5 separate regions of the Homo sapiens genome follow, and regions 2, 3, 4 and 5 are each linked to region 1. The links are contacts of gene promoters, found by promoter capture Hi-C in blood cells and fetal thymus (Javierre and others, 2016). All regions are on one chromosome and are shown on one strand. Each heading gives the region's core, a stretch centred on a gene start or on the middle of the fragment in contact. The rest is flanking DNA. Distances are from core to core; before and after follow the strand shown. Region 1 holds the start of ATL2 (atlastin GTPase 2). Region 2 holds the start of HEATR5B (HEAT repeat containing 5B). Region 3 holds the start of EIF2AK2 (eukaryotic translation initiation factor 2 alpha kinase 2). Region 4 holds the start of CEBPZ (CCAAT enhancer binding protein zeta). Region 5 overlaps LOC124907754 (a long non-coding RNA gene).

Region 1 (6,308 bases), core at 2,776-5,275:
GGGTTTCACCACGTTGGCCAGGCCAGGTCTTGAATTCTTGACCTTGTGATCCGCGCCCCCCCACCCCGCCCTCGACCTCCCAAAATGTTGGGATTATAGGCGTGAGCCACTGCACCTGGCAATTCTTGATGTTCTTAATTTAATCTCCTTTAGAAGGTCTATCCCAATGACCCTGAATCACTAGCTTTGGATATAAATAAAATTTTTCTGCCAGTCAATAACCCAGAGTCCCTATTCTATTCTCTTCTATTTACTTACTTTTCAAGTACAAACATAAAGCCAAGACTAGAGTCCATTTTCTTGTCCACATCTACTCTAGCAGGAACTCCGATTTCCCTCTGTCCCTACAAAATATTTCCTCCCTGGCCCCTCCCCCAAAGGAAGCCTCGCCTGTGGCAAATCGGTTCATTAGCCACAGTCACTGTACAACTTCTGGGACAAATCAATGGTCTGTACCCCTCAGGTCAACGAACGGAGCCTACAGAGTCCATCATGAGAATATTGGCGACTGAGTCAAGCTCGTTGCTCTGTAGTACCTCCAGTGCTTCAGGTCTGTGAGGAAAATTTCCTAGCCCTGTTCTGCTTTTTGTAACCTGGCCCTGAAGCAGCTCTGCCTGCGTCCAGAATTTCACATAGTCTCAGAGAAACAACTTCTTCATTTCTGTCAACCATTCTTGCACAAGAAAAGGAGCAACAGTTTGCAAGCATGGTGTAGCTTAAACAAAACTTTCAGGAAACGCATCACTGAAAAGATAACAAGGTCTGCAGAGATGCAGTTTGCCCACAACAAAGACAGCCTTTTTCATTCTCGGAGAGTGTAGTTTATCTCATTTCAGCCTCAGCAATATCCAACACCTTTTCTATTGACAACACTGCTTTATATTTGTCTTTGGCTTCTCTCTACTCTAACCTTGCCCCGTCCATCTGATATCACCCCAGGCAAGTGAGTGGTTTCCACTAATGGATATCTAAATCTCTACCTCTCACAGGGAGGAACTTTCCTTTTATCTTTTTTCTTTTTTTGCCACCCAGGCTGGAGTGCAGTGGTGTGATCTTGGCTCACTGCAGCCTCGACCTCATGGGCTCAAGCAATCCTCCCACTTTGGCCTCCTCCATAGCTGGGACTACAGGTGCGTGCCTGGCTAATTTTCGTATTTTTTGTAGAGACAGGCTCTCATTATGTTGCCCAGGTTGGTGTCAAACTCCTTAGCTCAAGGGATCCACCCACCTTGGCCTCCCAAAGTGCTGGGACTATAGGCATGAGCCACCGCGCCTGGCCCATTCCTTCTATCTTACACCATCTCCATGAAGGTTAAAATGATTGTAGGGCAAGTTCTTGTCAGTTCTCATATTCTCAGTACCCCGTGCTTTCCCATAGAAGAGTTATAAGACGGAATGTCTCCCTGAGAGGTGGCAAGGAAAAATTTTCCTTAGGAATCACTGACTTTTTTCCGGACAGCAAAAAATTAATTAATTAATTCTTTTTTTTTTTGAGCTGGTGGTGTTAAGCAGCAGTCTTTTTTGAATGGTATTGCTCCTTGCGGAGTAGGGCTAACTCACAGGCAGTGTACCCAGGGTCAGCCTATTTTTTTTTTTTTTTGAGATGGAGTCTCACGCTGTCATCCAGGCTGGAGTGCAATGGCACGATCTCAGCTCACGGCAACCTCCACCTCCCAGGTTCAAGTGATTCTCCCACCTCAGCCTCCCGAGTAGCTGGGATTACAGGCACCCGCCATCATGCCAAGTTAATTTTGGTATTTTTGTGGAGATGGGGTTTCACCATGTTGGCCAGGCTAGTCTTGAACTGCTGACCTCAGGTGATCGCCCCACCTCGGCCTCCCAAAGTGCTGGGATTACAGGCATGAGCCACCACACCCAGCCTTTTTTTTTTTTTTTTAAATAAGCGTTTGACCTCTCTTGATTCAGGCATAGTAACCACAGATGGGGGAGAGAGTGGGTTTGGGAGCCAAGATAGGCAGAACACCAAAAAGAGAAGAACATAGGCAAGGAAAAAAAAAAGAAAAGAAAAGAGAAAAGCAAAGCAAAACACGAAACACATGGGGTAGCAGCCTAGATTAGTAGATAGAATTGAAGTCCTTAAAATCGAAGGCACAGTGAGGGAAACCATAAGGTCTTTTATTACATGTAAGATATTCAATATCTTCCAAAGGACTGCCTATACTAAGCATAGAGGGTGATTTGGCTTAGGTGAACACTGCACTTTGGTAAGGATTCAGGTAGCTTTTTGTTGTCACTGACTGTATCAACCTTAATTTAGCAAATGGCCTATGCTGTGCTGTTTGTAAATGGTTTCTTTTTTCTATGTGCCTAAGCAAATGTTTTTTAGTGAGTAAATGACAGTAAATAAATCTTTGTAGAACAATCCTCGTGAAGATTTTTTTGCCCTTCTTCTCCTCCTCCTCCTCCTTCTTCTGCTTCTGCTTCTTCTTTTTCTTCCTTTTCAATACTACGTTTTTCAGGCCAATGATAAAACAGAAAATGTCTTGACAAAGTGAGCTCTCCAAATCATATATCACAAGGACGTAAGAGGAATATCACTTAACAAGTTGATAAAGATCCTGCCATCAATATGAACGAGGGGGAAGGGTAACTGTACTTTAGATTGTGGAGGTGGTTCAAGTCCCAGAACTAGAATCTTAGTAACTCAAAGAATATTGCCAAGAACACGTATATAGTTATTCTCCTAGATTTATGTGACAATGATGACAAACTCCATATTCTGTTGAAATATATTTGGATGGGCCGGGCGCAGTGGCTCACGCCTGTAATCCCAGCACTTTGGGAGGCTGAGGCGGGTGGATCACGAGGTCAGTAGCTCAAGACCAGCCTGGCCAAGATGGTGAAATCCCGTGTCTATAAAAATACAAAAATTAGCAGGGTGTGGTGGCGGGGGACTGTAATCCCAGCTACTCCGGAGGCTGAGGCAGAGAATTGCTTGAACCCGGGAGGCGTGAGCCACCATGCCCTACCTAGAATGGTATTTTGAAAGCTTTAATAACACCAGTGCTTTTCTAGAGATTGTGCATGCTGTGAATTTTAGACTTATGAAAAGACCTGGACAAAACAGCTGTTTGTACACCCGGACATCTGTTTTTACTGGAGAAGAGGAATTTCTAATGCAGCTGGCAGTATGGTAAAAATCCAAAGGGATCATGTTTCACAGACGCCTCCACGGGCTGACTTGTAATTTAAAAAGTGACCTGAACTTTCTACTGGATGTCACTGGATCCCCAGAAGAAGGTTCATCACAATTAGGTAAGAACCTGCCACGATTCATTTTCCGATTAGAGTGCTTTCTGGCATGCCTCTGCAAGGTGCTAGGAGCACAGGGCCAGGGTATACACAGTTGAGAAGATGGGGGAAGGTCTCATAAGTAGATGGGGAGCGAATGCAAACAAACCTTAGGATGGTGGGGGGGAGGGGAAGCAACAGTAGGGACTTGGGTGAGGAAAGAAAAGATCAAGAGGAAAAGCAGGGCACTGGCAACAACTTGGGGGGTGGATGGGGAGAGAGGAGGGGAATGGCTGTGATGAGGAGGGGGCGATGAAAAGGAGAGAAGGGGTGCGAAAGCCACCTCACGTGCAGGACGCACGAATCAACGATTAGAGATGTAAAGCGAATTGGGAGGGAGGGACTTAGTTCTCTGGAGCTCCCTTCTGCGTTTGCAGAGCCTGGCCCAGCGCTAAGGGGGTGTGGTGCTGAGCTCAGGGAGGTGGGGGTGTGAGACGGCGGCGGCAGGGACACCCCCGCCCCAGTCCAACCAGAAACTTGGAGCCGGGGAGACGGATCTGCAGGCGGGCAGGGCGAGGGCGGAGCGAGCGAGCGATGGGCGGGGCGGGGGCGGAGGGAGGGCGAGGAGATACAGGCGGAGGGCGAGGAGATACAGGCGGAGGGCGAGGAGATACAGGCGGAGAGCGGCGCTAGGACCCGCCGGCCACCCCGCCGGCTCCCGGGAGGTTGATAAAGCGGCGGCGGCGTTTGACGTCAGTGGGGAGTTAATTTTAAATCGGTACAAGATGGCGGAGGGGGACGAGGCAGCGCGAGGGCAGCAACCGCACCAGGGGCTGTGGCGCCGGCGACGGACCAGCGACCCAAGCGCCGCGGTTAACCACGTCTCGTCCACGACCTCCCTAGGTACGGGCCAGCGAGGCAGAGGCCGCGGGGCCCTGATGGGGAGAGACGCTCGCTGCTCGGGCTCGCGGGCACCGGCCGCAGGCGGCGGGGTCGGAGTCCGCGGCTGGTTCAGGTCTCCTCCCGCCGCCGCGCCTGCCCGCCGGGCCTAGCCTCAGCCGCGCCCCGCGCTCCCGCAGCGCGCGGCCTGAAAGGGCGGCTCGTGGGCCGCGGCTCCAGTAGCTGCTGGGAGAACCAGTGGCGCGCGCGTCTGCGACCGGCCCGGCCCCCTGCCCGCCAGCCCGCCGCGTGGCTGCCGCCGTGTCCGCCCCGACCTTAGGGGGCGGCCTTGAGCCGTGGCCGCCTGCCCGGGGCGCGGGGAGGTCGGCTGCGGCTCCGCTCCGTCCGGCGAGCTCCGGACGCGGCGGGGCGACCCGTTAGCTGGTGGGCGTTCGCTGTCCCTTACGCGGACAGGGAGGAAGGGGTGGCCAGGGCATGATGGGCCCCGCGGAGGAGGAGGTCGCGCGGGGAGCAGACACCTTGCTGCCGGGTCCGAAAGCTCCTTAGACACCCTTCCTGGAGGGAACCGCAGTCCGCAGGCCAGGGCTCTGTCCCCGGGCTCGCGTTTCGGGGCTCCTCGGCTCCCGAACCCATTCGCGCGGGTTGTGCGTGGCTAGGGTGCAAGTCTAGATTTTCGTGTCAAACTGGGGTTATGAGCCGTTTACGAGTCACTTGGACGATAGTAAGGCCTGATCACTCTGAAAGTGTCTGTAGTGTGAAGTCACCTGATCCTTGGCTCCCTGGTTTTGCTGAATGTGAGCTCCTACTGTACGTGTACCAGGAGCGCCCCTGCCCCCTCGAAGACGCAGTTGCGTTGGCAGCGCAGTGTATCCCTCTCACTCATAACACCCCTATTTATAGGAGTTTAGCGTTTGATCTCTCACTGTGGTGCGAATTGATCGCATGAAATCCTGATTGAAAATTTTGATGGTACTTAAGAAAGGCATAAAGTTTTTTCAAAGGCTTATAAATAGTAAAAGCCTACGATTTGGTAAGTACGGCCAAGATAAGAGTTTATTATTAAATACAGATACGAGCTCGTGTCTTAAGATTTCTTTTTTTACGGTGTGTAAAGGTTTTGCTGGATAAAATGTAAAGCATTTTGGTATGATGTTAACCACAAGGACTCACTTTAATAGGAAAGTTTATTTGAAATATACTTCATCATTCCTGGTAGTTCTTGGCGCATGTCAGAGGTGATGACAGACTGGAGTTTTGCTAAGGGAAGAAGAAAAGGAAATAAAGCTTATTTTATTATTGTCTGCCAACCAAAACGCTTGACTGTTTGTACAGTGGTAGCACTCTGTAGAATAAAAAACTACCAAAGAAGCAGCTTCGCCTTAGATGTGTGCTGGTTGGATTTCTTAAGTAATTAATTGTTTTGGAATGCGGATGGATTAATTTCGCTCTTTTGGTTGGACCCTAGGGGAAGAAGTGTGTGTTCTTTTCTTTCTTTCTCTTTCTTTCTTTCCTTTTTTTGAGGTAAGAGTTTTAGATGCAGTTTCAAAATATTCTATGTATTTACCTTATTAGAAGAAACATAAATTTATACTTCAGTTATGGTTGTGAACGTTGTTGTGCTGTGGTATCTTGAGAAGAGATGATACTCTTCAGATTGTTGTTGAAATAGGGCCCACCATTTATTATTTAATAAATGCTTTTGTCTGCTACTCATAGGTTTTTGTCCTTTGTTTTTTAGGACGGATCAGCAAGACCTTCACTTGATAGCCATTCCTAGCAAATGATTGCCTAAAACAGTCCCTGTACCTGCTAATTTGCTCCGAGTCACTCATTAATGAGTTAAAAACTAAATGAGCTTGGTAGGATTTGTGTTTAAAGTGAGAAGAAACAGACTGAATGAAAAGGACTCATCTATTTTTGACTGTGTAGAAACTCTTTGTCTCCCTCTGCTTCCTGGAGAAATAGCTTCAAAAACCAAGTTGGGGTCAAGTGTCACTTGAGTAGTTTAGTGTTAGGGAGAGGCTTTGTGTTTATTCTTTTAGGAATGTAGGATCTTTAGAAAGCAAATAAGTACTCATTTTATTGGCTTTTTAAGTTGATAGGATTCTGTAGATATGATTAAATCTATTTAGTAAAGTGTTTTGAAATTCTTCGAA
Region 2 (6,308 bases), core at 1,945-4,444, 1.3 Mb after region 1:
GTTAAAATCATGTAATTATTGGCCCTTAAAGGGTTAAAGTAATTTTCTACAAAAGTACTTCTCAAACTTTATTGTGTATACAAATTGCACTGAGATCTTCTTAAAATGCAGAATCTGATTCTGGGGCTGGAACCTGAGGTTCTGCATTTCTAGCAGGTTCACAGGCAATGTCAATGTTGCTAGTTCAGTTGCTTAAGACAAAAGTGTATTCACTTGTTGTGGTGCATATGTACTGTTTTTTCCTGCCTACCATCTTTTCCTTTGGGAATCCAACCCTCTGCCCTTCATGTGGTTTTAGTGGAGGGTGGCAATGTCAGTATCCCATATTTCCTTGGGCACAAAGATGGTCAATTATAGTACTCTATGTCCAGCACCAGGGGACGAGATGACCCAGCCAGAGAAATAACCATCTTTTTCCTTACATTATATGAATATATGGGTTGTGGGGGAAAGAAGGTCTTTTATGGGTGTTTCTGAACTGGGAGAATGTGAAGCTGGGCTGTGGATGGCCATCTTCTTGGCCCCATGAAGGGATCTTGTCTGAAGAATGAAGCCAGATAGAGAAAATGAGCCTAGTTTCCAAGGCTGCGGATTCTTTGAAGCTGCGACTTAGCATTCTACCCCATTACATAGACTAATACATTTCTGCATTACTTAAGCTTGCTGAAGTAGGGTTTCTGTCAACTGCAACCAAGTGTCTAGACAATTACACTGGATGAAAAAAGGATTACTATACTAATTTTTAATGGTTTTCTTTTTTGTTTTTTGAGACAGAATCTCGTTCTATCACCCAGGCTGGAGTGCAGTGGTGTGATCTCAGCTGACTGCAACCTACACCTGCCGAGTTCAAGCAATTCTCATGCCTCAGCCTCCCGAGTAGCTGGGATTACAGGCATCCACCACCACACCCAGCTAATTTTTGTGTTTTTAATAGAGACAGGGTTTTGCCATGTTGGCCAGGCTGGTCTCAAACTCCTGGCCTCAAGTGATCCACCTGCCTCACTCGGTCTCCCAAAGTGCTGGGATTACAGGCGTGAGCCACCACACCTGGCCTGGTTTTTTATATTTTTAATGTATATCTTCTCAACTAGATAATGTATATCTTGTGTTAAACACAAAGACAAGTCCCCTATATCCTCCCTACCTACCACTGCATCCCAAACACAAATGCTTAATAATTGTTTAGCAACAATGAGGATAAAAAGGGTCTTTAATATTTGTAATTTTATAACTTTTTCCTATGTCAACAAGTCATTTTTAAACACTTTTTAAATACGTACAGAAAACACATAAAACAAATGTACAGCTTAATACATTTCTGTGAGTCAAACATTCTTGTAACCATGTGGTACCCTCCAAAATGACTCCCAGTCATTCTTGCTGTGTGGTTTTCTACATCCTTAGTGTAGTCTCCTTCCACAGTGAACAGGATTAACCTGTGTAACCAACAGGATTTTGTGGAGATGATGGAGTTGATTTTTTGGTCATAACTGCAGCTCTTAGGTCATTCTAACTTTGAAGTTAGATGACTCACTTGAAGGAAGTCAGTGGTCACATAATAAGGATACTCAAGAAGCTCTATGGAGAAGGTCACACGATTGGAACTGAGTCCTCCTATTAAAAGCCAGCACAAACTCATGAGCCACAGGAGTGAGCTACCTTGGAAATGGATTCTCTTGCTCCAGTCAGGCCTTCAAATGACTCAGCCTGGGCTGGCATCTTCACTGCAACTTCTTAAGAAAGTCCATGCTAAACTAAGCTAAGCTGCTAACAAATTCCTGACCCATAGAAACTGTGAGATAACAAATGATTACAGTTATCTTAAGCTGCTACATTTGGGGATAATTTGTTATGTAGCAAAAGTTATCAGGAAGTAGAACCTTATCAGGCACCTGGGAGCCCTCTTTGTCCCCTATCCAGTTGCAACTCTCTTTTGGTTCTAAGAATAGTCACTATTCTGTTTTTTATGGCAATCATTTCCTTCATTTTCTCGATAGTTTTGTCATCCACGTGTGCATCTTTAAACATTACAGTTTAGTTTACCTATTTTTATTATAAGTTAAAAACGTGCACTATTATATACAGCATTTATGGTAATTCACCCGCTTCCTCTAAACCTCAGATTCTTCATTGGTAATAACAGCATTTTTACACATAATGGTTTAACACTTACCCAGTATATCACACATTTTTATCACATTTAACCACCACTAACAACTCTACAAGGTAGGAAGAGTTTTTCCTGTTGGAGAAATTAAGGTTCAGTATGGCTAAATGACTATTTCAAAACCACAAAGAATCCGGGTCATAGTGCCTTGCAAATAGGATTACATTGTTTTTAAGAGACCTACTTAACTTTAAAGTGCCAGGCACATCTGAATGGGGTTACAGGTTGCTTTTAAAGCTCTCTTTCTATTGGTAAAATATACTTTAGCATTATCCATTTCCATCAAAGATAAGCATAAACTTCACAAGGCGATACCCTGGCAGAGATGATGGAGGCTCGTACCAGAGTGATAGCAATGCAAGTGGTCGCATTTGGGGTACACTTGAAGGTAGAGCTTACAGGATTTGCTGATGTTGTAGGTAGTACGTAAAGAACGATGTCAAGATAACGCTAAGTTTTTGGCCTGAATACATGGAAGAACGGAGTTAACGTTTTTTGAGAGTGGGAAGACTGTAGGAGTAGGTTTGTTTTTGTTTTTTTAGGGGGCGTAGTCGGGAAACAGACATATTGAGAGTCCCATTACATATACAAGTGGAGAAATGGACCTACAGTATAAATGTGACAAGAAACGTCCCACTCTCAATACTACGCTCAGGAACCGCTGATCCCTTCCCTCACGCGTTCCTCCTGGCTGCAAGCGTCCCACAGACGCAACCACCCACGGATGGAAAAGTGGCTGACGGTGTGATACGGTAGTCATGGCCAGCGCACTCTGCCTTTTATCATTCTACCGGTTGTCCCCAGACCCTTACCTGACAGCTCTCTTACCTGACAGCTCTCTGCTCGCCCCGGTTCAGCGCCGTAGAGCGCGCGCTGCGCATGCGCCCACCGACCAGCGTCGGACTTCCGGACCTCGGCTCCCACCAGTTTCCTAGTGCAGACTCTATTGGAAATTCGCGGCGGGTGGGGATAGGAGGACGTGGTGACTGCGCTTGCGCAAGACCAGCCCTCCGCGCAAGCGCTCTTCCCTTGTTTCCTGCAGGTAGGAGTGCGGGAGGTGGGGCATCCGGGTCTCTTGGTGGCTGCTTCTACCCCCGGAGCTCAGCTGATCTTCCCTTCCAGACTACGAGGTGAGGTCGCCGAAGCATGCATGTTGACACGCACGGACTCCTGTCCGACGTACATTTTCAGACGGGTGGGGAAGACATTTGAGTTCGTAATGAACATTTTCCCTTTTCTGGCTCCGTGCTTAGTTCCGAGCTGCCGCCTCGTGCTATTGACAGCCTGCGGAACCCCACGGAGGCTTGCGGCGGCCTCTTGGTGTTTCCCCGGGTCCGCCGCTTGCGGTTCTTGGAGTAGCCAGGTGAAGCCAGACCCCGAGCGCGCGAGGCTTCTCGGGTGCATTCCGGACCGCCTGGTGTTGTCACTGACGCTTCGGCCGCCGGGCCTGGCCGCCCCACCCATCCGCGTAGGAAGAGTCTTGGAGACCTGCAGTTCGGGATGTCTGTGCTGGGTGTTTTGACCTCAGTCCCTCTGGCCAGGTGCAGCGCGGGAGGGTAAAGGTGCTATGTACCGAACCCTGGACGAGAAAAAGAGGAGGATGGTTGTCAAGCCCGGCTGGGGTGTTTGATCTTAGTGCTTCAGTTTTTTCATTTATAGAACGGGTAAATGACATATGTGTTGCTGGACATATTTCTTCTGGAATAATGCCTTTTTTGGCAATAATTTCTTTTAATTTTCTTTTCACTCCATGAGTCACTCTTCCTTACCAAGTAGTTTTCTTCTGTTTTTGTTTGTATTTTTGTCATTTAAAAGTATGTTCTCAGGTTTTGCCTCAAAGAAGTTGAGTTTTTCCCCAAATGAAATGAGTAGTCCTACTTTTCTTAGTGAGTATATTCCATTAAGCTTGACTTTTAACATTAAAAAATACTTACAAGTATTTTTTACTCTGTTAAATTTAAGGTGTGAATTTCAAACTTCCGTAATGGAGTTAGCCCACAGTTTATTGCTAAATGAAGAAGCTTTGGCTCAAATCACCGAAGCAAAAAGACCAGTTTTCATCTTTGAATGGTTGCGATTTCTTGATAAAGTCTTGGTTGCTGCCAACAAGGTATGGTATTGCTCTTTTTTCCCAGTTGCATTAACGTGAAGAGATTATGTGGTCATGATTCTTAAGAAAACACATGTTATGTTTTGGAAGGTTTATGGGTCACTTATGGAACTTGAGAGTATTACACGAATGGGAAATTTAGTGGCAAAACTCAAACCTCGTTTAAATCCAGCTCATTGCCTATCTTCTTTATGTTTGTACCTGGGCAGCTCATTGTAACTGGAGAAAAACATGGCTATATGACTGGTGTCACTTTAAATTTATCATCGTCACCCGTTGCAAGTGATCTCTCTATGCTGCCTAACAATCCCAGTGTCTTCACTTATCTCTTTGAGGAGTCAATAATAGGCTCTTTTTTTTTTTTAATCTGTTTTTTCTTCCTGCATAGCCTTGATTTGCCGAGACCAGCTCGTTTGGGGAGACCCTAACCTAGCGGCGCTAGAGGAATTAAAGACACACACAGAAATATAGAGGTGTAAAGTGGGAAATCAGGGGTCTCACAGGCTTCAGAGCTGAGACCCCGGAACAGAGATTTACTCAAGTGTCTATTAACAGCAAGCCAGCCATTAACATTGTTTCTACAGATATTCGATTAGCTAAAAGTATCCCTTATGGGAAACGAAGGGGTATGCTGAAACAAAGGGGTGGGTCTGGCTAGTTCTGTGCAGCAGGAACATGCCCTTAAGGCGCAGATCGCTCATGGTATTGTTTGTGGTTTAAGAGCGCCTTTAAGCGGTTTTCAGGCCAGGTGTTCCTTGCCCTCATTCGGGTTTCGTTATGGCCATCATGAACATGTCACAGTGCTGCAGAGATTTTATTTATGGCCAGTTTTGGAGCCAGTTCCCAACATTGATTCAACTTACTTTTTATTGTCTGTGTATTTTATATTCTGTCTTTAAAAGTAGATATGGCCCGGCATGGTGGTTCACGCCTGTAATCCCAGCACGTTGGGAAGCTGAGGTGGGTGGATCACCTGAGGTCAGGAGTTCCAGACTAGCCTGGCCAACATGGTGAAACCCCGTTTCTACTAAACACTGCTAAAAGTACGAAAATTAGCCAGGCGTGGTCGTGGGCGCCTGTAATCCCAGCTACTGGGGAGGCTGAGGCAGGAGAATCGCTTGAGCCGGAAAGGCAGAGGTTGCAAGGAGCCGAGATCGCACTAATGCACTCCAGCCCGGGGGACAAGAGTGAAACTCCATCTGAAAAAAAAAAAAAAAAAAAAAAAAAAAAAAAAAAGTAGATACTTCCCTCAAATGTCTGATGATCTTTGGCTGCCTGATCAAATTTAAAAGTGAGTAGTAAAAACTTTTCTCAGCAGGGCCAGTCTTTTAAACTGGACTTCACTGTAGGCTAGTTTGGTCCCTGACCTTAGTATTTTAGGTTTCTGTAGGCTAGTCATTCCCCAGAAGATACTTTTCTACTGTCGTGTCTGAAGAGTATATAGCTAGCTGGCTACATTCTTGGAGTTGTGGGAGAAGACTGGGGACTTTAAAGTTCAGTATGTGAACTTTCACTGCATCTCCCCATTTTCAGTGCAGTTTTCCCAGACCGCAACTGTGCCTGGACTCTTCTAGTCTGGACATACAATATTTCACTCTTCCCAGAGAATAAACTTTCAGTCTGCTTCCATAATGAAGAAGAGGATTCTTTCTGCTTATTAGACTCTCAACCATTCCCTCTATCTCAAGGTACATACAACTTCACTCCCACCTCCAAAAGCACCTAGGGCTTAAAAAAACCGTGATCTCTTAGGGGGTCCTGTGTTGTAAGTTAGGTCATTTTGCAGCTTTCCCTGTTGGGAACAGTTGGTTTCCAAATACTGTGTTGATTCTTTCTCCTGTTTTCTTTACCCTTTGGATTTGTGCTTTGTTGTTATTGTTCCTGTTGTTGTTGCTACCCTTTAGTATGGTTTTAATGGAATTTCTATAGAAACAGTCAATGCATGACCTAATGTAAATGACGAGTTAATGGGTGCAGCACACCAACATGGCACATGTATACATATGTAGCAAACCTGCACATTGTGCACAT
Region 3 (6,308 bases), core at 2,171-4,670, 1.2 Mb after region 1:
TGTGGATAAACTCACACATATCCTCCATTCCTGCTGTCACAGCCTCTTTATTTGTTGAAACAAGCACAGGGATAGCTGGGGAAAAGGCTAACAGAAGTCTTCTTGCTCAACTGCTTCTCAAAAGCCTCTTTAGAAGTGGTTGCCTTTGGTGAACATTCAAAAGGGAGCCCAATATGCACACTCTGCCCATTCGAAGTGGTTCAAGCACATCATTTCCCTAGACCTCATCATCAGCCCTCTGATATCATTCCTTCCAACTCTCTGAACATCAGCTGCATTGCCAGCCACTGGCTCTGTATAAGCCACTGAAGGAGGGGACTTTGGATCTTCTTGGGGTCCATGGTTAGGAAGTAAGTGACTAGGTTGCATAAGATGAATCTACTCCAATATTCCTGACTCCCTAAGTATTTTTGATTTCTTCATCTGCATTACTTGGCATTACATTTACATTTAGTGTGAGCTGCCACTGAGCTGATATTATAGTAAACCAACTGGGCAAACTGGCTTAGCGCTCCCACTGCTAGAGGCAGTACATCAACTTTCTTTCTTTTTTTTTTTTTTTTCTTGCTCTGTTGCCAGGCTGGAGTGCAGTGGCACGATCTTGGCTCATTGCAACCCCGACTCCCTGGTTCAAGCGATTCTCCTGCCTCAGCCTCCCAAGTAGCTGGGATTACAGGCACATGCCACCACGCCCAGCTAATTTTTGTATTTTTAGTAGAGACGTGGTTTCACCATGTTGGCCAGGATGGTCTCAATCTCCTGACCTCATGATCCGCCCACCTCGGCCTCCCAAAGTGCTGGGATTACAAGCATGAGCCACCGCGCTCAGCCTCAACTTTCAGCTTTCTTCACGTCATCTTTAGACTCATTGCCATGTCTATTTCTTGCTTTCTGTTGCTCTTTTGTTGTGTAAAGCATCACCCCTCCATCAGATCTTGTCCATATCCTCTTGGGGCGCATTAGCATCTGATTCTAGTTCTAGGAGTGAAGGCACAGGTAGAGATAGGATATTTGGAGAATCAGCACCTCCTTGCAGGGTGACTGTTTCATGCTTTTTAATGTAGGCTGTACCAGCCTTATCAGACAATGGTGGGAAGCCTGTGGAGACACAGCAGAATTTAGGAGGGCAGTGGCACTTGGATTCATTCAAATCCACCCAAATTCCCAGGGCTTCTTTCTTTCACAATCAATGCCCTCAGTGTTCACAGAAGAGACCTGATGAGGCTGCAAATGAAAATTTTTGTTGTAATTCTAGGCTGGGCGCGGTGGATCACGCCTGTAATCTCAGTACTTTGGAAGGCCGAGGTGGGGGAATCACTTGAGGTTAGGAGTTCCAAACCAGGCTGGCCAATATGGTGAAACCCCTTCTCTACTAAAAATACAAAAATTAGCTAGGTGCGGTGGCACACGCCTGTAATCCCAGTTACTTGGCAGGCTGAGGCAGGGAAATTGCTTGAGCCCGGGAGCCAGAGGTTGTAGTGAGCCAAGATTGTGCCACTGCACTCCAGCCTCGGCAACACAGCAAGACTCTGTCTCAAAACAATTATATTGTAATTCTGGTGCCTGCAGCACCAAGCTTTGCAGCTGAGAGCCCAGACAGTAGGGAATTGGGCTCCTCAGGGAGTCCAATATGCTCACACTTTACCCATTCCAAGAGGTTCACCCATATCATATCATTCCCCTGGACCTCATCACCAACCCTCTGATATCATTCCTTCCAAATCTTTCCCCAGCAGAGAAGGCAGATTTTTACATCACCCCTGAGGCTCCCTGAAATAGGAGGGTTTTCTGGTACAGTCATAAAAGCGTGTGTCCTCTGATCATGCTTAAGCTTGCCATTTTTCATTCTTTAAGCTCTCTTGGGCAGTTCAGGGGCTCAAAAAGTCAGAAAAACTTGTCCTTGCTACTGCCATTGCTGCTGCCACAGCCATCCCACACCCACAAAGCTGACAAATGGACACACAGCACTGTCAGAGTTTTCTTGTCACCTGGAAATGCCACAAAAAGATGGCTCTGCCTCATGTCTACCTTCTAAACCTCCCGCCAGTGCTTTACATATAGGGGACTTAAGCTATGCCCAGGACCAGAGCTACAAGGAAAGTGTAGATTTTAGTTGTTGATACCCTGCAATGTGGGGTTGTTGGGGGATGGAGAAGGGAGGCTGGAGAGGATGCCTGCCTAGGTGTAATTTTTTTTTTTTTTTTTTGAATTGGAGTCCCACTCTGTCACCCAGGCTGGAGTGTAGTGGCATGATCTCAGCTCACTACAATCTCTGCCTCCCAGGTTCAAGCAATTCTCCCTGCCTCAGCCTCTGGAGTAGCTGGGATTACAGGTGCCTGCCACCACGCCCAGCTAATTTTTGTGTTTTTTAGTAGAGACGGGGTTTTGCCATGTTGGCCAGGCTGGTCCTGAACTCCTGACCTCAGGTGATCCGCCCGTCTCAGCCTCCCAAATTTCTGGGATTACAGGCATGAGCCACCGCGCCGGCCTAGGCATAATATTTAATGTATATTTGAGGTCTGTCTTTGGACCACCTTCCTCTCTTATCCCAGCTAAGATACTGAGAGTACAAACTCCTGGTTATAATTCTAACTCCGCTGCTTACTACCTGTGTTAATCCAAATTCTCTGTGCCTCAATACTCATTAGTCACTGTGCCAATGAACTCTGGAACTCTGTGTGACTCTGGGAGTGTGTCGCAGTCCATCAGGTGAGTAGAATTTCTATAAATCGAGGACTACTGGTGTTGGACTATGGTAGGAAGCTCCCTGGGGTACTGTAGGAAGCAGGTGTCTCTATTTAGCAGCAGGACTGGCCCACAGGTGCTTTTACAGCGGCTGGCAAGTGTCTGCTCATGAATGAATGGATGGGTGGGAGCGGAGTGAAGGAGATTACGCCCCCAGGCCTCTGATCCCCAGGCTTGTAAAGGTGAGGGGGCCGCGGTGTGGCAAGAGGGAAAGAGTGCTTTGGTGTTTACAGGCCCCGACTTGAACTGAATCCTGGCTTTGCCACTTACGAGCGGCAGGACCCCTGGGTGAGTTCATTTACTCAGTTTCCTCTATTGTAGAATGGAGCTGGTAAGATCCATCTTCCCAACCCCACCCCAAATATTTGTGTTGAGAGTAAGTGGAACCCTTGATTCGAGAACCTAGTGCGGCCAGCGGACTAGGCCAGCGGAGAACCCTAGGAGCCCCGGGGGCGGGGGATGGGGGTGCAGGGTCCTGGCCGTGCAGGGGCAGCACGTGGGTGCCAAGCCCGCCTGCCGGTGCCAAGCCCGCCCGCCGGTGCCAAGCCCGCCCGCCAGTGCCTCTCGCGCGCACTCTGGATCCAGCGCCAATTTACCCCAATCCCGTAGCAGACGAGGGCTTGTGCGAGAGGGGGCCGGGCGGCTGCAGGGAAGGCGGAGTCCAAGGGGAAAACGAAACTGAGAACCAGCTCTCCCGAAGCCGCGGGTCTCCGGCCGGCGGCGGCGGCGGCGGCGGCGGCGGCGCAGGTGAGCAGGGCAGGGGGCAGCCGAGGGAGCGCGGGGAGCGGGGGCCGGGGGGCCACGTACGAGGGGCTGCAGGCCCAGCCGGGGCGGGACTCGCCAATCCTGCGTCCCCAGCTCAGGACGCGGACGCTGATCCGAAGCCCCTGGCCCCGGCTGGGTCAGCACTGGGAGAGCAGGCCCAGGTCCGCAGCCCGGGTGTGGGGCCCTCCCCAAATCCAGGGAAAGGATCGTGGAGCGGGGTGGGGACTGAAAGCCATTTCCTTCCCGTGAAGAATTTTTATCAGTGCAAGTAACAAATATTTCCCAGGCAGCAGTTGTGGGGCGGGGTCTAGTGGAAGACGAATAGGCCTAGTGGCTTGACACATGGAAAATACGGAGGCCTGAAATACTCATAGACTGGCTGAACAATCTTTGGCTAAAAATCTCTTCCGTGGAGAGTTGCAGTAGTTTCCCAATTGCCTGGCCGCAGTTCCTGTTCCCACTCCGTATCCTCACCCCTGAACCTCCACCCCCTACCTCTTCTCCACACCTCAGCATCTGGAATGTTCCTTTAAGTAAGAACCAGACTCTCCCCTGCTCCGACCTTCCCCGTAGCTTTCCTGTCTCATCAGAATCCTATAAACATTTATTAAGGCTCACAGGCAAGGCCCCTCGCACCCCCTACTCCGGCCACGCTGGCTTCCTTGCTGTTCCTGGTGCACAGCCAAGCATCCTCCAGCCTCTAGGCCTTTGCACTGCTTGTTTCTTCTTTCTGGAAAGCTTCTTCCCCAGATAACTGCATGGGGAAATCCCTCCCTTATCCTGCACTGCTTCCCATGCCAGCTTATCAGAGCAGCCTTCCTCAAACAACCTGCCTATACAAGAAACCCCGCTCTGCCCTTGCTGTTCCCCCTTCCACTACTTCGGTTGTCAACATAGTAGTTATCACCTGGTGACATTTTCTTTCTTTTCTTTTCTTTTTTTTTTTTTTTGAGACAGATTCTCACTCTGTCGCCAGGCTGGAATGCAGTGGCACGATCTGGGCTCACTGCAACCTCTGCCTCTCAGGTTCAAGCGATTTTCCTTCCTCAGCCTCCCAGGTAGCTGGGACTACAGGTGCCCGCCAGCACAGCCAACTAATTTTTTTATTTTTAGTAGAGACAGGGTTTCACCGTGTTGGCCAGGCTGTATGTAGTCTGCTGGAAAGGAAGTGGAGGCATAGCCAAAATAATTTCTGGGCATTAGTAAGATGGACAAATATTATTTTTTAGTGATTATGATGGAGGTTTCTTCCAGATGAGTGAATAAGATGTAGAATCTGCTCCCCAAAGAGCTCACTAATTAGTTTAAAAAGCAGTCAGGGCTGTGTTGAAGGTTGGGCAAGGTGGAGTGGCAAGCCCATACTAGCTGACCCTCCAGCATCAAAGAAGGCTGTGTTGATCCTGATAGATGAGTGGATATTGGTGGGTACAGAGAGAATGCAGATATTGCACTATAAATGTAGAGAAAAGCAGGTGACAAGTCCTGGATGGGGTATCTGGAGATATTTTGGTACTCACTCATTCATTATTGAGCCTGGTCCCTTACCTGTAGTAATTCATGCTCTATTTTGGAAAATAGTTAAATAAGCAATTTTAATAAAGGGGATGAGCACTGTGGAAGAGCCTGTGAAGGAGTGTCTGGGATTTTGAGCTGAAATCTGTAGGAAGTAGAAATTGACCAGGCCAAGACAGCAGAAGGAATAGAGTCAAGGGCATTTTAGGAGGGAGCAGGTTGGACAGAGGCAGTTGGGAGTTCAGGAGAGAGTCCATGGTGGAAGCGTGCTTTTGAGAACCATCATTGTGTCCGTGGAATTTAAAGCCACAAACCTGGAGGTGATCACCAGGGGAGTGAGTCCAAGTAGAAAAGAGCAAGTCTAAGGACCGGGCCCAGTGATGCTAGAATATCTAGAAAAGAGGAAGTTAGAACCATAGAAAAGGTTAAAAAAAAAAAAATAGAAGAAAAGAAGTTGAAGATGAACCAGGAAAGGAGACAGAAAAGGAGTAGCTTGTCAGAACAGAAGAAAACCAGGCCCAGGTGCCATGGCTCATGCCTGTAATCGCAGCACTTTGGGAGGCCAAGGTGGGTGGATCACCTGAGGTCAGGAGTTTGAGACCAGCCTGGCCAACATGGGGAAACCCCGTCTCTACTAAAAATATAAAAAATTAGCCGGGCGTGGTGGTGGGCGCCTGTAATCCCAGCTACTCGGAATGCTGAGGCAGGAGAATCGCTTGAACCCGGGAGGCAGAGGTTGCAGCGAGCCGAGATGCCACCATCACACTCCAGCCTGGGCAACAAGAGCGAAACTCTGTCTCAAAAGAAGAAAACTAGGAGAGTGGGTGTCTTAAAAGTCCAAGCTAAGACAGGGAGAGGAGGGCGAAGAGGATGCGCAACCCCATCAAATGCTGGTTGTAAGTCAAGTAGAGAAGGACTAAGAACTGACTACTGGATTTAGTGATAGGGAAGCCATTGGTAACCTCGACAAAAACAATTTCAGTGGCTTGTGGAGACTGCATGATTGAATTGATGTTTTTTTGTTTGTTTGTTTTGTTTTTGTTTTTTTTTTTGAGACGGAGTTTCGCTCTTGTTGCCCAGGCTGGAGTGCAATGGCACGATCTCAGCTCACCGCAACCTCCACCTCCTGGGTTCAAGCGATTCTCCTTCCTCAGCATCCCGAGTAGCTGGGATTACAGGCATGTGCCACCACCCCGGCTAATTTTGTATTTTTAGTAGAGATGGGGTTTCTCCATGTTGGTCAGGCTGGTCTTGAAGTCCCGACCTCAGGTGATCTGCCCGCCTTG
Region 4 (6,308 bases), core at 2,080-4,579, 1.1 Mb after region 1:
TACTACAGGTGACATGGGCCCCAGTCTCACTCCAGAATTAAAGAATGTTATAAAATACGAATTCCTCAGCTTCCCATCCCCACCTGGCCTCTAACCTAATCTGGGGACTCCAAGAATGAAATGCCTTCCCCTTCTCCTCTCATCCAAACCTAATCCCTCCGCCTGTGCTCTGGACCATTCCTCATACAACTCCCCTGAGTCCTTTTAGCTGTCCCCTTCTCTCTTCCAGCTTCAACTTTCCCCCTTCAGCATTCAAAATAAATCAAGTCACTCCCATTTTTGAGAACATTTTTTCAATCCACACATCTCTTCTTCTAGGCTTTCTAGTTCCGTTCATAAGGAAACATTATTGGGGTATTTACGCTTTTTTGTGTTATGAACCACTGTGGTAGCCCAGTGATGCCTATAGACCCCTTCACAGAGTGTTTTTAAATGCACAGAACCACAAAGAAATAACTGAAAAATGTGTATCAAATGTTCTAAAAAATGTGATATATACACTTCTTTACTAGTGTATTAAAAAAATATAATTAGGCCGCGCACAGTGGCTCACACCTGTAATCCCAACACTTTAGGAGGCTGAGACAGGCGGATCATATGAGGCCAGGAGTTCAAGACCAGCCTGGCCAACAAGGCAAAACCCGATCTCCATTGAAAATACAAAAAACCTAGCTGGGCATGGAAACATACACCTGTAATCCCAACTACTCGGGAGGCTGAGGCACAAGAATCCTTTGAACCTTGAAGGTGGAGGTTGCAGTGAGCCAAGATTGCACTACTGCACTCCAGCCTGGGTGACAGAATGAGACTCTATCTCAAAAAGCCAACAAACAAAAAAGCCCATAATCAAGCCAAAGACCCAATAATTAACAAAATTTTGAAGTAAGGATGAGCACGATGAAATCCTGAGATGCCTGTGATCACTGTATTGTGATAAGGAAATACCAATGATTTCCACAGATGACAAAGTCACAGGTATTGCTGATGCTACTAGTTGCTGCGTATGTTCATAATTGAAGAAATGCTAAATTTCAGTTGAAAGTTAGTGAAAATAAAGGTATAATATTTTTTCCATCCAGCTTCATGAAACCCCTGATTTCTATTAAAGGGTCCCTAGGTTAAGAGCCTCTACATTTTAGAGTTACCCCTACTCTCAATGCTGGGAAACCTTCCTTTCTCTCAGTATGTTCTCCCTGGTTCCTTGGCTTTAAATATGACCTATATGCTGATGACGAGCAAATGTATATATGCCTGCCCAGTCTTTCTTCTGAACACCAGGCTCACTTTTTTTTTTTTTTTTTTTGAGACAGAGTCTCGCTCTGTTGCCCAGGCTGGAGTGCAATGGCGAAATCTAGGCTCACTGCAACCTCTGCGTCCCGGGTTCAAGCGATTCTCCTGCCTCCTGACTAGCTGGGATTACAGGCACAAGCCACCACGCCCGGCTAATTTTTGTATTTTTAATAGAGACGGGGTTTCACCAAGTTGGTCAGGCTGGTCTCAAACTCCTGACCTCGTGATCCACCCGCCTTGGCCTCCCAAAGTGCTGGGATTACAGGCGTGAGCCGCCACGTCCGGCCCTGAACGCCAGACTCTTACAGCGAATTGCCTACTTTCTATCTCCACCTGCATGTCACTGCTAACAAAATATGTATAAAATGCAGCTCCTGGTGTAGGCCCTCTCCCTAGTACTCCTCCAAACCTGGTCCTGTCTGTCTTAATCTCAATAAAAGGTACCATCATCACCCAACTGCTCAAGCTAAAAGTACGAATCAGCCTTGATTCCTCCGTTCCATCACTCAATCCATCGGCAAATCCTGTCAGTCCCTTTCTAAATCACCCTCTTCTATTTCTAGTACCACCACACTAGTCTAAGCCACCTATCTTGCAGCCCTGCCTAACCGGCATCGAAAGAAAGATACCGGCCTTGGGTAAACCTCGACACTAGAGTCACACTACCATATCCAACAACAATGGCCAATCTAACCCCAGAATTCCACAGAGGTCATATTTCAACCCAGCAAAAGATGAAATATTCTAAAATAAAGGACTATAGGCTTTCACCAAATGGCTCTGTAGAACAGACAAGGAAACGTGGGTCAGAAAGCTGTGACTGTGCCTAATCCTAGAACAGTGAAGACGACCCAGACTGCATTCTCAACTGCACATGTGAGAAAACCCAGCACATGTCTCCAATGCCAGCTGAAGCCATTCCAACACAGACGACTTTCCAGGCAGTAATTCCTATTTCCAGCTGCCTGTTGGAGATTTCTACCTAAGAGTCCCACACACTTCAAATTCATATACCAGCCTGAACTCTCCATCCTTCCTCCCGTATTCCTTCTCCCAAAGCAATGAATCCACACCACCCACCATCAGCCAAGTAGGAAAGTCATCCTTCCCGCATCATAAATCCAATCAGCTACATTCTGTCTCCTAAACACCCTTGGACCGTGTCCTCTCCTCTTTACTGGCACTGCCTCTGACGTGAGCCAGCCCTGACCAACTGACAAATTATCTGTCCCCAGGTCCTCAGAAATGGCTCTTCCCCTGGCAGGCACCCCCACTGCCTGGGCTGAGAACCTTCGGGCTTCTCCCTCCTGGCTTGCACCTCGCAAATCGGCTAGAGAGGGCCTAGTCCTCGGGCTACCCGACCCATACCTTGGCTGGATTAGTCAACACCTCCTTCATGTACTCGGCCACAGTGATGGGACCAGTAGACTTTATTTTGTACATAAGATGCCGCAGCATCGGCGTCACCGGGTTTTCTGCAGGCTCATTCCCGGAGCTGAAGTATTTCCCTCTCCAAATAAAAGGAATGGCTGCGAAAAACACAAATTAAACAGACCCCATGATAAATCTGACCATTCACGAGCGCAAGCCGCCTGAGCGTTTTCAAAACAGCTTCGTGAACCCTTAACCTCGCCCCACCGCAGACCGCGGGCTACTGTGCTTAGCACGCCCACGGGGCGCAGAGACAGCACCCACTTGCCCACGACTACGCAGCCCTATTGCGTTTGTACCGGACCCGTTTCCAGCCCAGGGTACCTTCAAGGTGGAAGTGAGCCCCCGAGCCCTTGATCCCCCGGTACCCTCAACTGAAGAGCTGAGGAAGGCGCCCCACGCGGCTTCCACGGCAACCGGGCTTCGAGGGGACTGACGCTTACCTGCGCGCGCCACGGCACACAACGGCCCCAAACCTGACCTCAGCAGTACACTCATGCTGAAATTCGCAGGCTAGCTCGCTCCGCCAGGAGCTGGGGCTTAGACCATTTCCGGGAGAAGACACGCCCCGACAGGAATTACGCCACTGGCAGAGCGGAAATAGGCTGAGTTTCACGCGCGTATGCTTTGCCCGCCATGGCCGCAGTCAAGGAGCCTTTGGAGTTCCATGCCAAGCGGCCTTGGCGCCCCGAGGAGGCAGTAGAAGATCCGGACGAGGAGGATGAGGATAATACTAGTGAAGCCGAGAATGGGTTCTCCCTGGAGGAAGTGTTACGGCTCGGAGGCACCAAGGTAACGGCCGCGGGCTCCGGGGAACGGGATCAGGCGTGGAGAGTTCCGAAGGTGGCTAGGCTGACTGCCCCGCCGCTTCCGCGCTGCGTAGAGCGCGGGCGTCCAGGACCGAGATCCCAGCCTCTGAAGCATGTGTTCGGTGCGCTTCCCACGCCGGTTTCCACTGCTGTTTACAAAAGAAAAGTTTCGAATTGAACGTTGTATTCTCTGGCTATTCTTAGGATGTAGGCGATCTTCTGATTTTATTGACGTGGTATAACCATCACACCATCAGGTCGGAGAGTGGCTTTTCTTGGTCCTGACCTTGTGGTATGAGTGTTTTGAACACCAGTGGTATTGGAATTTTCATTTCTGTTCTCATAGAGTACATGCACGTGTCACTGTATGCCCCAGAAGCCCTCTTTTTTGGAGCATCCTAATTAAGGGAGAGAAACAGTAAACAAACTTTTAAACACATAGTACAGCAGACGCGGGGTAGTGCTATAAAAGAAAATAAAACAAGGAAGGACGATAAGGAGTGGGAGCGCGTTAGTATTAAATGAGATGATCGACAAACACATCACGGAAATGTTTGAGCAGAATCCTAAAGGACAGGAAGGAGTGAGCTGCCATTCCAGTCAGTTGGAACAGCAAATGCAAAGACAGGCAGAAGAGTGCCTAACCTATTCCATGAGCAGCCAAAATGCCAGTGTAGCAGAGGCAGAGTGAGTTAAGGGGAGAATAGTAAGAAAGGAGGGCCGAGGGGTCAGAGGGCAGGCTTTTGCTCTGAGTTTGATGCAAAACCACTGGAAGATTTTAAGCAGATAAGGAACAGAAATTAACTTTGTTTTTAATATTATTTTGTTTGGAGACTGGACTTTCAAGGTGGAGGAGTTAGTTAGAGATAGGCAGATTCACAGTTTGCTCTGTGCTTGTGTATATTTAAGTTTTGAATAGGTAATATATACACATGAAACACGTGGTGCAAACTTTAAAAGATACATAGTGAAGTCAAATTGTTTCCACTTTTATCTCAGCCATAACCATTGCCCTGATAGGAAGCAATTATTTTTACAACTGCATTTTATATCTTTCAGGGATACTATATACCTTTTCAAGCATATACATACTCATTTATGTGTATGAAATACGGGTGTATCTTTTTTACATAAATGGTACCATATATATACACCTATCTCTACATTTTGCTTTCTTTTCTGTCTTAGAAATCCTTCTATATCAGTGCATAACGTTCTGTGTCATTGCTATGGCTGCATAAATCATTTTGTCTGTCTTAATTTATCTAACCAGCCATTTATTGTGAATATTTAAATTATTGCCAGTCTTTCACTATTTTAAATAATACTACAGTTAATAACCTTAATCGTGTTTTTCCCCCACTTTTGTAAGTGTATATGTAGTATAAATTTGTAGAAATGAGCCAGGCACAGTGGCTCACACCCATAATCCCAGCACTTTGGGAGTCAGAGGTGGGAGGATACCTTGAGTCCAGGAGTTTGAGACCAGCCTGGGCAACATAAGGAGACCTCATCTCAAAAAAAAATTTTTTTTTTAAATAGCTGGGCGTGTAGTGCCAGCTACAGGCTGAGGTTGGAGGATCACTTCAGCCTGGGAGGTTGAGGCTGCAGTTCAGCCATGGTCATGCCACTGTACTCAAGCCTGGACAACAGAGCGAGACCATGTCTCAATCAGTTAGTTAATTTTTAGAAATGAAGCTGCTGGGCCAACAGATGTGTGCCTTGTATTAAATAGTTGTGATTGGAGTTGACAAATTGTCCTCCATGGAGGTTGTGTCAGTTTACACTCACATCAACCATGTATGAAAGTGCCGTTTCCGCCACCCCTTCCCCAGCATCACCTGTCATTGTATCTTGCTCATCTTGCAGTGTATCTTTGCTCATCTGATAAATTAAAAGATGGATGTATCATTGTGGTTTTAATGTGGATTTGTCTAAACCTCAGTGAGGTTGAACATCTTTTCATATTCTTAAAGAACCCTTTTTTTCTATGAACTGTTCATGTCCTTTGCACATTTTTCTTTTGGGTTGTCACTTACTGATGTGTAGAAACTTATATTAAGGGATTAAACCCAATTACTTTGATAGGAATTGCTTGTATTTTTTTTCCAGTTTATAATTTATATTTTTTTCCTATATCGAAATAAAAAGTGTGTGTGCGTGTGTGTGTGTGTAAAAGAAAGAGAGAGAAAGAGAAATTTACTTATCCTTTCCTTTGTGGACCCTGAGTTTTATGTCAAATTTGAAAGGATTTTTCCAGTTCCGAAATTATTTTTAAAATTATGTTGTGTTTCCTATTATTTTATGGTTTTATTTTTCACATTTGTAATGTATTTTTAACTTATGTTTTTAATGCAGCAAGATTACCTTATGCTGGCTACTTTGGATGAGAATGAGGAAGTGATAGATGGAGGCAAAAAAGGAGCAATCGATGACCTTCAGCAAGGTGAATTGGAAGCATTTATTCAAAATCTTAATTTGGCGAAGTATACAAAAGCTTCCTTAGTTGAAGAAGATGAACCAGCTGAAAAAGAAAATTCCAGCAAAAAAGAAGTAAAAATACCTAAAATAAATAATAAAAATACAGCAGAAAGTCAAAGGACATCAGTTAATAAGGTGAAAAATAAGAATAGGCCAGAACCACATTCTGATGAGAATGGCAGTACCACACCGAAAGTAAAGAAAGATAAACAGAACATCTTTGAATTTTTTGAGAGACAGACTTTGTTACTTAGGCCTGGAGGCAAATGGTATGATCTGGAGTACAGCAATGAATAT
Region 5 (6,308 bases), core at 2,331-4,830, 1.0 Mb after region 1:
ACCAGAGCCGCTCAAGTACAACTACGCAGAAACAGCCCCTCACCTTCTCCTCTGGCCAGGCTGAGGCACTCGGACTGACCCCCCTGGATGCCCAGGGCAGGGCGGCCACCAGCAGCAGCAGGTGGAGGGTGCCCACGACGCGCCGGTGTCTTCCGCCTGCCATCTCTCCGAGTCTGTCTGGGAGCGGGTTCCCCGGGCCGCTGGCGGTCACGAGCCCGGGAACGCGCGTCCTTCGCCTTCCCTCTTCTCCACCCTTGGGTCGACTGCGCCCGCCTTCCCATCGCCCCCGGGTAGCCTCCCGCCGCGTCGCGCAGGCTGCAGCCCTCCTACCCCGGACCTTCGCAAACCCCGGGGCTGGGCGGCCCTGGGTGACAGACACAAGCTTCTGAACCCAAGCTAACAAAGGCGGCCACTTCCTTCTCTTGGAGAAGATGAAAGGAAGGAAGCAAGAGACATGGAAGAGCCTTTTTATGATCTCCAATGCCAAAACAGGGAACAGAAAAGGGAGGAAGGGTTCACCAGACCCTGGGGAGTTATGAAGTGTTTCCCACAGCTCCTAAAGAAGGGGTGGACAGGGAATCGACGTCTGCTGAACACGGCACCAGGCACCGTCCTAGGTGCTTGTCCAACCTTCCCGGATTTAATCCACTAATCCCATTTTACAGACGGGGAGACTGAGACACCCCCCCACCCCCCATAGAAAGCCTGGACTGGAACCCACAAGCAAAAGTATGACAGTGGATCTTTGCCTTTTCTCTTTTTTCTCACAAATAGTTGCCTTGCCTCACATCATACTCTCAAATTGAAAAGGATGGTCAAAGTAATTATCTGAAATAATGAGATCTACAATATTCACAGCGGCTCTGAAGGAGTCATCTTCTCCAAGGCATGGCCCCAAAAGGAAAAGCCAAACACAATTCTATTTACTTTGTAACATCAAAGGTCATTGTTATCCAGATAATCCTAGGGCAGGAAAACATTTCAGTTTTGTCTGTAGGTTTCTGGTCCAAGTTGTCAGGACAGTGACTTTCACCAGCCTCTTTTGCTTCCACAGTGAGGATCAGGGCTTGGCCTGCTCTGAGTCATCTCCCAGTAACATCTAGTTCCCAGAAAAATCAGAACAAGGATACTGAAGCAGAACCATTTCACAGAGAGCAAAGATTTGAAGGTAAGGAAGCTGCCAGAAGGCCCACCCACTCACTCTGTCTTCCCAGCCTTGGCTATGAGTTTTTAAAGAGAGGGCTTGCCTGGAAATACACTGTTCTGCCCTCCTCTGGAGCTGTAGGAGAAGACAGGATGTAAATAACTCCTTTCCTGGTGTACAGATTTGCTAACCCTATTCATGTCTGAGAGTTTTGAGTGACAATTTAAATCTCCAGGCTTAAATAAAATTAAATACACCTTTATTAAACCCACAGACAGTTCTGATCATCGGACCCCCTTCAGAACTTTCTACTGGCTCCAGTTTCAGAACTAAACCACTGTCACATTCCCCAATACAGCTCCTCTCTTGCTGCCTGGGTCAACCTTGAAATAGTGCATTTCCTGAGTGGCTGGGTAATAAAGAGCCTATTTGCTTTTTTTTACCCTATTACCTTTATGTCTTTTCACAATATGGTTCCTATAAGAAAGAGAACGTGGAAATAGCAAACCTAAATGAAACAAAATGTGAGAGGTACTATCATGCTAAGTATGAGCAATTCAAAACAAGAAATATAGAAATAAGCTAAAATGTCAGCACATAACGTAATGATGATTTTGTTTCCTAAGTTTCTCCAATTTTGGTTATATTTAAGTCAATAAGATGTTCTTACAGTTTGGTATCTACAGGAAGCAGACTCTGAGACAAGAGTTTAACATGCAGGATGTGTATTAGGGAGTGCCCTTGGGACAAACCCCTGTGGGAGGAAGAAGGGGAACAGGAGAGAACAGAGGGAGAAGTTAGCAGCAAAGCGGGCCCAACAACCTCACCCAACTCCATGGGAGTCCTGAAGCTGAAAAAGACGGTCAAAGTTGTCCCATACTGGGCCAAAATGTCTGGGGCCTTATCTCTGCACCTCCATGGAGTGATTTCCTGCAAGCGGCTTTCCAGCCAAAAGAGCTTGACTGCTAGAGGCTGTGGGCCAGCCGGCCTCCAACAGCTGGAGCAGGGTCCTTCCCTGGGGGCAGATCTGGGCAGCGCATCTCCTGTATCCACCACAAACGTATTGTATCTGGTACAAATCTAAAACATTCCACATAGCTAGTGAGACTGATTTCAATACATTGGTTTTTTTTTTACATGTAAGCTTTTCTGCCAACTTTCCAAGAATCTACAAATCCAACACCACTATGTATGTATCACTTCATTCCTTATGCATATCTTTTCTAGTGTCTTACACACTAAATACCCTTTTCCTTTCCTTCGCTCATTCTTTTCTCTCTTCCTTCATTTGGGAAACGTTTAGAAATACCTTATATCTGCTATTTTTGCCCTACTTCAACTTTTCCTTTCTTCAAACTCTTCCCATGGAAGATAACTAATGACTTTTCCATTTTAATTAAAGTTTCAGACCCTGTTTTTCATCATGGAAAAAATGTGTTGTATATACAGTGATAACACTGTTCTCAAGTGGAGAAATTTTTACCTCCATTATAGTATAGATTCCATACTGTGATGTGAAGGAAATGAAGGACCCAATTGCCAAAACAGATCTTCTCCATGAAGCTGCCATGGCAGGATGTTCCTACACCCAGTCCCACCTTTAAAGTGGCGCCATTAGATCAAAGTAGTAATGACCAGAAGGTTCTATTAAAACAATAGTTTTCAAAAGTGTGGTCCATGGATACTGGGGATTCCCCAAGACCCTCTTGGCTGTCTCCAAAGTCAAATCAACTTTTATAATAATACCAAAACAAGATTCATTTTTTCTACTGTATAGACTTTGCACTGATGTTGCAAAAGCAATGATGGGTAAAAATGCTGGCACCTTAGCAACTGTCAATACAGGACACAAAACTGTACTATTGAGGAGGAAAATCTATACTTGTAGTCATTGTGTTTTTCTTTCTTTCTTTCTTTTTGGAAGGAGTTTCACTCTTATTTCCCAGGCTAGAGTGCCATGGTGCCATCTCGGCTCACTACAACCTCTGCCTCCCAGGTTCAAGCGATTCTCCTATCTCAGCCTCCTGAGGAGATGGGATTACAGGCATGCACCACCATACCCTGCTAATTTTTGTATTTTTAGTAGAGACAGGGTTTCACCATGTTGGTCAGACTGGTCTCGAACTCCTGACCTCAGGTGATCTACCTGCCTCGGCCTCCCAAAGTGCTGGGATTGCAGACGTAAGCCACCATACCCAGCCATCTTAGTATTTTTCACTGCCACGCATAAAGAAAAAAAAAAAGAAGAGGACGATAAAAGAAAAGAAAAAGAGCCAGTTTCACTTAAGAATGTCATTGATGAAGTAATAAAATTGTTGTTTTACTGCCTTCTGAAGCTGTCTCTCCATGAAGCTAGATTTTAAATCTAGCAGGACAGAGTACAGGAGGAGAGAGAGCTCCTCACGTCTGCGTTTTCATCTCATGGAGACCACCAGCTCTGTGTGGACTCCTCCTACCTGCACTGCATCCTGGAAACTCTCAAAGCAGTAAGCTGGAGAAAACATCAGGCTCATCTCATTTCATTTTCCCTTTTCTCACCACTTTCCTGTGATACCTCTTTTCCAATATTTAAGCATCATTTTAAAAATTTTTATACACTTAGAGAGTACAGGAGCAGTTTTGGTACATGGATATACTGCATAGTGGACAAGTCTGGGCTTTTAGTGTAAGCATCACCTGAAAACATAGTATACATTTACCCATCAGGTAATTTCTCATCCCTCCTACCCTCCCACCCTTCCAAGTCTCCAATGTCTATTATTCAGCTCTTCATGTCATTGTGTACACATTATTTAGCTTCCACTTATAAGTGAGAACATGTGCTAGTTGAGCTGTTTCACTAAAGATAATGGCCTCCAGTTCCATCCATGTTGTTACAAAAGACAAAATTTTGTTATTTTTAATTGCTGGTAGTATTCCAGGGTGTGTGTGTGTGTGTGCGTGTGTGTGTGTGTGTGTGTGTGTGTGTGTGTGACGTTTTCTTTATCCAATCCATTGTGAATGTCATTTTTAATATATTTTAGGTGGGATGACAAATCCAGTTCCATCTTAACTGGAAGCACAAATTGAGAGTATGCAGCTCTTTATACTCACATGGGAAAATAAGACGTAGAAATCAAACACTTCTGCTGCACACCAAAGGGCAATTGTCTCAAAGAAAAGCATTTGTACCGTTGTTTCAGAAGTATAGTGGGCCGCAGTGGCTCACATCTGTAATCCCAACATTTTGGGAGGACAAAGCAGGTGGATCACTTGAGGTTAGGAGTTCAAGACCAGCCTGGCCAACAGGATAAAACCCCCATCTCTACTAAAAATACAAAAATTAGCTGGGAATGGTGGCAGGTGCCTGTAGTCACAGCTACTCCAGAGACTGAGGAAGGAGAATCACTTGAACCTGGGAAACAGAGTTTGCAGTGAGCAGAGATCACACCACTGCACTCCAGCCTGTGTGACAGAGAGAGACAGTCTCAAAAAAAGAAAAAGAGAGAGAGAGAGAAGCATAGTGAACTTGCTACTTTTTTCATGAAATTCCAATTTAATTGAAAGAACAATGACTGATAAATTATGATTATTCAGACTTGGATATTTGGCAGACATTTGAAGATGAATAAAGTGCGCCTATCCCTTGAAGGAAAATAACTGACACTGTTTGTTGCCAGTGATAAAACTGGATCTTTGCAGTAAAAATTGGAATTTTGGATAACTTGTATCTGCTACCATAAGCTTGATAGTTTCCTGATATGCAACAACTTTTATGACAAAATTGGTGATTTTAACAAATGTGATTATTTATTATATATAATGAAATGCTCAACATTTGGAATATCTGCATAACTCAGTGAAGCAATATTTTCCAAATGTTCAATTCATCATGTTACAAAGTCACAAAGAAAAGTTCCACTCAAAGTATAAGAGACACCCAGTGGATTTTAATGTAATGGAATAAAAACATGTATTTAGAAGCAGATTTTAAGTTGTACCTTTTATGACACTATCATTTGTTATGTTTTGATTTAATAATGAAGGAGATTATCCACAGTTATCTGAAGAGGCTATTAAAATACTCTTCCTTTTTCCTACTACATGTCCGTGTGGGGTCAAATTTTCTTCATGTACTTCAGCCAAAATAATATATCACAACAGGTGGAATGCATAAGCAAATATGGGAATCCAGTTGTCATCTAAAAAGTCAGAAATTAAAGAGATTTTTTTAAATGCCAATCTTCTCACTAAACTCTTTTTACTTTGGAAAATGTATTTTTTCATAAAACATGTGTCTTTAGATGCAATGACTTTATTCTTTTAAAATAAATCCATAATTAAGTATTTGTAAAATGCCTGTTCTAATTTTCAATACAATAAATATTGATAGACATGGTCCACATAAATGAAAGCTATTTGTGGTCCTCAATTACTGTTACTAATGCAAGGAGTTCTGAGACCAAAACATTAGAGAATCACTATGTTAAAACCATTCTACTTGAGAGAGACAGATGATAATACATTAAACCAATGCTTACAACTGTAGCTACACATGGAAATTATCTAGAAAGCCTTTTTTAGAAAATGGTGATGTCTGACTTCCACCCCCAGAGATTCTGATATGATTAGCCTGGTGTGTGGTCTGGGCGTCAGATCGCTTAAAAGCTCCCCAGGTGATTCTAACGTGCAGCCACGGCTGAGAATCATTGCATGAAGTCACACACTTTGAGAAATACATCAGCAAAAATCATATAATCAGATTAACTATAACATTAATAGTCATGTTGCATTGTAGTTATTTCATAAGGCCCTGAGGATAATAGCAAAAAAGATTGGGAAAGTGGCCCAGCCTTAGACAAATTATGAAGTAGGCAGCTTAAATTCAAACCCCCCAACTTTCTGGCCCCATGCAAGTCTAGTACTGAAGCACCCTGCCTTTTGTTCCTTTAATAGTCACAGAATGTAAAGAGTCCTACATTATATTCTTGTTTGAATCTGTCCGCCACCTCTTTCGATAGCAGAGTGAAAAATTAAAATATTTGCCTCTGCAGTCCAGTGTCAGATTTTTAGTGTTCCTTAGAAATCTCAGGAATCCAGATTTCCTGTAAATATTCCCAACTTCTTTCACCAGATCAGAGGTCGGGTGAAGGTGGCAATAAAAGCTAGGAGAAAAAAAACGTTC

What was found. The method cuts DNA at HindIII sites, captures the fragments that hold promoters and counts their contacts. A CHiCAGO score of 5 or more calls a contact.
Region 2: a contact is called between the fragment with the promoter of HEATR5B here and the fragment with the promoter of ATL2 in region 1, in 9 of 17 cell types (activated CD4 T cells, non-activated CD4 T cells, naive CD8 T cells and 6 more). The highest score is 12.5, in activated CD4 T cells.
Region 3: a contact is called between the fragment with the promoter of EIF2AK2 here and the fragment with the promoter of ATL2 in region 1, in 1 of 17 cell types (monocytes). The highest score is 7.2, in monocytes.
Region 4: the fragment with the promoter of CEBPZ here is called in contact with the fragment with the promoter of ATL2 in region 1 in 1 of 17 cell types (monocytes); the score reaches 5.5 in monocytes.
Region 5: a fragment that was not itself captured here is called in contact with the fragment with the promoter of ATL2 in region 1 in 1 of 17 cell types (monocytes); the score reaches 6.6 in monocytes.

The regions. Positions count from the first base shown.
Region 1 is chr2:38,374,990-38,381,297 of GRCh38, reverse strand. It overlaps ATL2 (atlastin GTPase 2), which reads left to right and starts at 4,025. Exons shown (of 13, transcript NM_001135673.4): 1 at 4,025-4,155. The coding sequence starts at 4,038. RefSeq lists silencers at 3,606-3,655, 3,726-3,885, 4,106-4,605 and enhancers at 3,856-4,105, 3,932-4,431, 4,432-4,933. The HindIII fragment of the contact is 2,426 bases long and covers 3,013-5,438 here.
Region 2 is chr2:37,081,258-37,087,565 of GRCh38, reverse strand. It overlaps HEATR5B (HEAT repeat containing 5B), which reads left to right and starts at 3,194. Exons shown (of 36, transcript NM_019024.3): 1 at 3,194-3,297; 2 at 4,130-4,277. The coding sequence starts at 4,152. It overlaps GPATCH11 (G-patch domain containing 11), which reads right to left and starts at 3,048. Exons shown (of 9, transcript NM_174931.4): 1 at 2,996-3,048. RefSeq lists enhancers at 2,957-3,116, 3,587-3,686. The HindIII fragment of the contact is 3,413 bases long and covers 662-4,074 here.
Region 3 is chr2:37,154,092-37,160,399 of GRCh38, reverse strand. It overlaps EIF2AK2 (eukaryotic translation initiation factor 2 alpha kinase 2), which reads left to right and starts at 3,420. Exons shown (of 17, transcript NM_001135651.3): 1 at 3,420-3,492. RefSeq lists silencers at 3,121-3,310, 3,511-3,630 and an enhancer at 3,361-3,490. The HindIII fragment of the contact is 2,417 bases long and covers 1,834-4,250 here.
Region 4 is chr2:37,228,617-37,234,924 of GRCh38, reverse strand. CEBPZ (CCAAT enhancer binding protein zeta) reads left to right here and starts at 3,329. Exons shown (of 16, transcript NM_005760.3): 1 at 3,329-3,513; 2 at 5,889-6,308. The coding sequence starts at 3,358. It overlaps NDUFAF7 (NADH:ubiquinone oxidoreductase complex assembly factor 7), which reads right to left and starts at 3,267. Exons shown (of 10, transcript NM_144736.5): 1 at 3,165-3,267; 2 at 2,659-2,819. The coding sequence starts at 3,219. RefSeq lists enhancers at 3,378-3,827, 2,785-3,984. The HindIII fragment of the contact is 13,102 bases long and covers 1-6,029 here.
Region 5 is chr2:37,338,587-37,344,894 of GRCh38, reverse strand. It overlaps LOC124907754 (a long non-coding RNA gene), which reads left to right. Exons shown (of 2, transcript XR_007086284.1): 1 at 1-1,168; 2 at 4,168-5,479. It overlaps QPCT (glutaminyl-peptide cyclotransferase), which reads right to left and starts at 265. Exons shown (of 7, transcript NM_012413.4): 1 at 44-265. The coding sequence starts at 163. The HindIII fragment of the contact is 2,579 bases long and covers 2,291-4,869 here.